Regions from separate parts of the Homo sapiens genome. Here region 1 is linked to region 2. Evidence: promoter capture Hi-C in human tissues and cell types (Jung and others, 2019). All regions are on one chromosome and are shown on one strand. The core of a region is centred on a gene start or on the middle of the fragment in contact, and the rest is flanking DNA. Distances in the headings are between cores, read along the strand shown. Region 1 has its middle 29 kb from the start of ARFGEF2. Region 2 holds the start of SULF2 (sulfatase 2).

The links. The method cuts DNA at HindIII sites, captures the fragments that hold promoters and counts their contacts. A contact is called where the count stands out against the background at its distance.
Region 1: a fragment that was not itself captured here is called in contact with the fragment with the promoter of SULF2 in region 2 in 2 of the 25 tissues and cell types used here (mesendoderm cells and thymus).

Annotation. Positions count from the first base shown.
Region 1 is chr20:48,891,350-48,894,239 of GRCh38, forward strand. No RefSeq gene overlaps it. Among named protein-coding and RNA genes, the nearest start is that of ARFGEF2, 29 kb to the right of the region's middle. The HindIII fragment of the contact is 6,824 bases long and covers 1-2,890 here.
Region 2 is chr20:47,784,031-47,786,730 of GRCh38, forward strand. SULF2 (sulfatase 2) reads right to left here and starts at 1,451. Exons shown (of 21, transcript NM_001387048.1): 1 at 1,313-1,451. LOC124904920 (a long non-coding RNA gene) reads left to right here and starts at 1,724. Exons shown (of 2, transcript XR_007067618.1): 1 at 1,724-2,132; 2 at 2,375-2,700. RefSeq lists an enhancer at 2,569-2,700. The HindIII fragment of the contact is 5,454 bases long and covers 1-2,700 here.

The sequences.
Region 1 (2,890 bases), core at 20-2,519, 1.1 Mb after region 2:
AACAAGAAGAAGGGGAAGAAGAAGAAGAAGAAGAAGAGGAAGAGGAAGAAGAAGAGGAAGAGGAAGGAGAAGGAGGAGAAGGAGAAGAAGAGGAAGAAGAGGAAGAAGAAGAGGAAAAAGAAGAGGAAAAAGAAGAGGAAGAGGAAGAAGAAGAAAAGAAGAAGAAGAACAAGAACAAGAACAAGAAGAAGGGGAAGAAGAAGAAGAAGAGGAAGAGGAAGAGGAAGAAGAAGAAGAAGAAGAGGAAGAAGAAGAAGAGGAAGAGGAAGAAGAAGAGGAAGAATGCTTCCTAGAACCAGTTGGGAATTGAAAGCAGTATCTGGAGTTGGGTGAGAAGAAGAAGGGACTTGAAGGGGCAAAGGAAACTCAAGCTTTGTTCAGCTGCAGTTGTCAAGTGTGCTGGGCTCTCCCCAGGGAAGACACCCACCTGCTGGGGATGACACACCTTGCCGGGAAAACAAGGTGCTGGTGTGTGCAGTGGTACAGGGCACTGAAAAGAACGTGGCCTAGGACACGGACAGACCTGGCTGGCTTGAGCCCCTTATGAGCCTCAGGCTTGGAGCAAGTCTCTGAAGCACAACTTCTCAGCCATTGCTCTATGGACAGTGACAGCCAGATCACTCTTTGCAGTGGGGGCTGTCCTGGGTATTGTAGGATGTTTAGCAGTATGCACCGTCTCTACCCACTAGGTGCCAGGAGCAGCTCCTCCCCCCAAGTTGTGACAACTAAAAAAATGTCTCCATTGACATTGTCGACATTGCCAAGTGTCCCCAGGGGCACAAAATCATCCCCAGTTGAGAACTACAGCTTTAAATCTAATTAAGCCTTCCTGGTCAAATTGGGATAACAGTGATAGTAATACTGCCTTGTATGGTGGCTGTGAGGATTTCCTTCCTTCCCTCCTTCCTTCCTTCCTTCCTTCCTTCCTTCCTTCCTTCCTTCCTTTTCTCTTTCTTTCTTTACTTTTAGAGACAGGGTCTCACTTTGTTACCCAGGCTGGAGTGCAGTAGTGCAATCATGGCTCACTGCACCCTCGACCTCCTGGGTTCAAACGATCCTCCTGCTTCACCCTCCTAAATAGCTGAGACTACAAGCATGTGCCACCATGCCCAGCTAATTTTAAAAAATTTTTTTGTGGAGATGAGGGTCTCGCTATGTTGCCCAGCGTGGTCTCGAACTCCTAGCCTCAATCCATCCTCCTGCCTCAGCCTCCCAAAGCCCCGGGATTACAGGTGTGAGCCCCTGTACCTAGCCAGGGCATTTCTTGAGCATTTACTAGATGCCAGTGGCTGTGCTCATGCTTTCATGCATCAGCTCCCCTCCTCCCATAGCCCATCCCACATGGTGCTTTTACCCTCATCCTCCCTACATAGATGAAGAAACTGTAAACATCTTTCTTTTCATCACATTCACATTCAACCAATACCTCCCAAGGAAGGGCCTCTTATGTGCCAGGATTCTGGGAGGGATTGTGGCACATATGTAATCTCACTGGTTTCTGGGTGGGTTTGGCTAGTTGAGAACCACTCACAGTAGACCGAAGGGTGAAAGGAGGGGAGAATCCAGGATATTTTCTCTCGTTCTCTCTCTCTGTGCCTCCAAAGCATCATCAGCAGCTGCTGTGCCTCATCTGTGGCTGCAGATCCAGCTGTACAGTCTGTCCCTTGGTGATCCTGGATCTAGCTGGGCAGGCCATCAGGATTCTGTCTCCTGCCAGGTGGCCCAGCTTCAACTTCACAGCATGGTAGCACCAACTGTTCTCTGCTCCTCCCCCAACAAAGATGGCATCATCTTCCTGCTATGGTTTAGCACTGAGTTGTCTAACATGCCATTTGGCTTCTCACTTCTATCATCTGTGTGACCAATTCCTTGTATTATATTCCCTCTATTTGAATACCTAGTGGGATTTCTGCTTCTCTGATTGGTCTCTGACGGCTCCATATGAGATTTGGTTTCCTAGTTCATGCTCTTGGACACCACAATAATCAGCTCTTTGCTGTACATGGAGTATATCTCCTGAATATAAAGATAAATGTGTTTGATAGATGTATTAGTCAGGACTCTTTTGATTGCAAGTGACAGAAAACCAGCCTTAATTGGTTTAAGCAGAAGAAGGGAATTTATTGGCTTATGTAACTGAAAAGTCCAGGGGATGTTTGGCTTCAGGTACAGTTTGATCCAGCAACTGCAATGCTGTTGTCAGTATGTCTCCATCTCTAGCTCTTCTTTCCTCTGTGTTGACCTCATGCTTAGGCAAGCTCTTCCACTAAGGTGACAGACAATGGTTTCAGCATCAACAAACCTACACCCTTCAAGTTTACCAACTTCAGTAGAAAGTCCTCTTTCTCAATATTTCCAGCTGAAGTCCCAGGCAGGATTCTCATTGGTCCAGCTTGGAACACATGCCTGTTTCTGAGCCAATTACTGTGACAAGGCAAGATACTGGGTTATACATCGAACCCCTGCAGCTGGACAGTGGGGTCAGCATCCCCCAAACCACAAAGTCCAAGAATGGGAGTGAGGTGGTTCCTGAGAATAGTGAAGGGGTGTTGTTACCAAACATCAATGCATGTGCACTGATAGATACATGTTATTTGGTTTACTCGATGGTGATGCCGAGCTAACCAGCAGATCAGGAGGAGCAGAAGATTAGCAATCAGAAGACCCATGTTTGAGCTCAGGGTCTTCAGGCACCCTTCTCTGAACTGCAATTTTCTCATGCATAAAATTCAACAAAAAACAATAACCGGCCGGGCGCAGTGGCTCACGCCTATAATCCCAGCACTTTGGGAGGCCGAGATGGGCAGATCACGAGGTCAGGAGATCGAGACCATCCTGGCTAACATGGTGAAACCCTGTCTCTACTAAAAATACAAAAAATTAGCCAGGC
Region 2 (2,700 bases), core at 201-2,700:
AGAAATCACCTTCACTATTCACTACAAGCTGAAATTTGGAGAGCGCGCAGATCCGGGGGTGTCCTCCAGAGAAAGCCCGTCTCTCCTGCTCCCTGTCTCCCCCTGAGAACCTGCTCCAGCGCAGCCTCCCCTTCTCTGCCCCAAAAGTGGGGGTGGACCCGGTGGGAAACAGGCAGGGGACAGATGGAGGGGCGAGAGGGCGGGTGTCCCAACACGCACAGATGAGCAAATACCCAGATTGAAACGTAAGCTGAATGTAATTACTTGGTTAATTAAATATTGACTTTTAACTCAAAAAGTGATTAAAACAAGCTGCAGGAAGACTTTCCAGAAAGGGGGGCAGGGAATGAATCAAAGCTTTCAAGGGGGAGGAGGAGGAGGAGAGGGTCGTCACAGGCAGGTCTGGCTTGCTCTTCCTACTGTGTGCTGGGCCTACTGCGTGCAGGTGGGGGAGTTGCGGACCGAGGCCAGTGTGCAAACTAGGATTGCAGGCTTCCCTTTCCATCTTCCACCCCGAGACGGCATCTCTCTACCCTGCTGCCCTCCCAGTGAACCGGCAGCTTCTGGCGCGCAGGAGCCAGATCCTGTTCAGCCGCGTTTCCCTGGAACAGAACGCGGTGCCCGGCACGAGGGGGTGCTCCAGAAATGCTTGTAGAACGAATGAACGAACTACTATAAGGAATGTTTGGAAAAGTGCACTCCTAGAATTCACCGCTAGACTTCTGAAACCCCGAGGAGCCGGGGAGGGGAGCATCCCTCCGCCAGGCGATGGAAACTCGTTCTGCCCTGGCCTGGGAGGAAGTCTGCCTTTTCGATCCTGTTTGTCCTTTCGGTGTCTGCGAGTTTCCAACCACTCTGAAGATCCGGCCCACTGCTTCCCCGAGTCCTGCCCGGACAAGCCCCACGTGGGCTGGCATCTACCGGTCCCTTGGGTCTAAACCCTAAGGGTCAACAAGGCCATGCCCCTGCGGATGGCCGGCCCAGGCGCGCTCCCCTACCCGGGGCCGCCTGTGCTCGGTGTGCCGTGTCCGCGGGTCAGGGGCGCGGCGGGAAGTCCTCGCCCGCCCGCCAGCCAGCGGGGTCAAACAGGTCATCCCTCTGCGGACGGCCGGCGCCGGAGCCTCCCTCCCGCCCGCCCGGACCCACCTCCGCAAGCAGCGCTGGGGCTGGAGCCGGGCGGTCCGGACCAGCCCCGGCTCACCTGGGCGGCGCTCGCGGCCGGGCTCACGCCGGGGAAGGCTCCGGCCGCCGCGAGCCCCCGCCCGAGCCCCGCGTCCCCCAGCCACCCACCTGCCCCCCACGCCCCACTCACCAGCGCGCACGGCCCCGGCAACCTCACCCGGAGCGGGGCGCCGCCGCCGCCTCTGCCGCAGCCCGGCCGGGCCGCTGGGCGCAGGGGACTCCGCGCCGCCGCTGCCGCTGCCGCCGCCGCCGCCGCCGCTGCCGCTGCTGCATCCCCCGGCGAGCGCTGCTGCTCCTCCTCCTGCCTCCTCCCCGCCCCCCAACGCCGCCGCCACCGCCCCCGGCCCCCTCCCCGCGCGCCGCCCCAGCCAAAGTCCGGCTCCGCACCCCGCCCGGACCGCTCTTAAATCGCCCCAGCCCGGCCGGCCACGCTGCCCCAGCCAGCCCCTTGGCACGGCGCTACCGCCCCCCGCTCGCCTGCCCGCCGGCCTCCACGCAGGGGAGGCGGGCGCGCTCCGGGGCGGGGAGCGTCGGGCCGGGAGCCGCGGACGGCTGGGGCCCGGGGCGCGGGGGGCCCAGCCGCGGTGCCCTCCTCGAGCCCTCCGCGCGCTAGCGCTTTTACCTCCGGCCTGGGGGACGCGCGGCCCGCGACCCGGCCCTGCCTGTCCCCGGCGCACGGCCCCGGCCCCGGCCCCGAAGTCCAGCTCCGGACGGGGCAGTGAACGCAGAGCTGGGGTCCCGGCGGCTCTCGACCTCCCGATGCCTCCGGACTCGGCTGGCCGCGCTCCCGGCGCCGAGCGCGCACCCTCGCCGGGACACACAGACGCACACTCACTCGACACACTCTCGCTCCTGCTCGCCCTCGGCGGAGAGTTGAAACAGATGTGGGATTCGCCCAGGAGCTGGAAACGAGGGAGGGAAGCGAGCCAGAGCCTTGTGTGCACGTGTGTGTGCGTAACACACAAACCAGGGGGCATCGCTAATAAATCAAATATCGTGATAAATTCAGGAGGGCCATCGATCAGGTCCACTTGGCTGGAAACGACGTGAATCTGCCTCTTTTCCGCTTTCTTCTTCTCCTCTCTCGGAGCTGGAGGGAGCCAAATGTTCCGCGGGGAGTGCGACAGCCCCGGCCGGGCGCTCCCCTCGTAATGACACGTTAATAAATGTTTTCTTTTATCTGCTTTCACAGGACTCGCCCCGGTCTGCAAACACTCGACTGCCTTTGCCGAAAGCCTCGCGCTCGCCTCCAGCCACACACATTTGCCATTGGAGAGGCCGGCGCCGGCCGCGACCCGCAGCTCAATCGCAGGGCAAACCGAGCTGCCTGTGCGCGCCCGAGAACTCCCCGAGAAATTAACTTCGGCTCAAGTGAAAATAGCAGCTGTTGTCCAGAAATGGCCCGGGAGTAGCATAGAAAGGAGAAACCGGCTTCCTCCGAAAGGGGAGGAATTGGACTCAAGGGGGTGCTGTCTACCGTGGTTTCCGCTGTCCCTCGCGCCACAGAAGAGGCCGGAG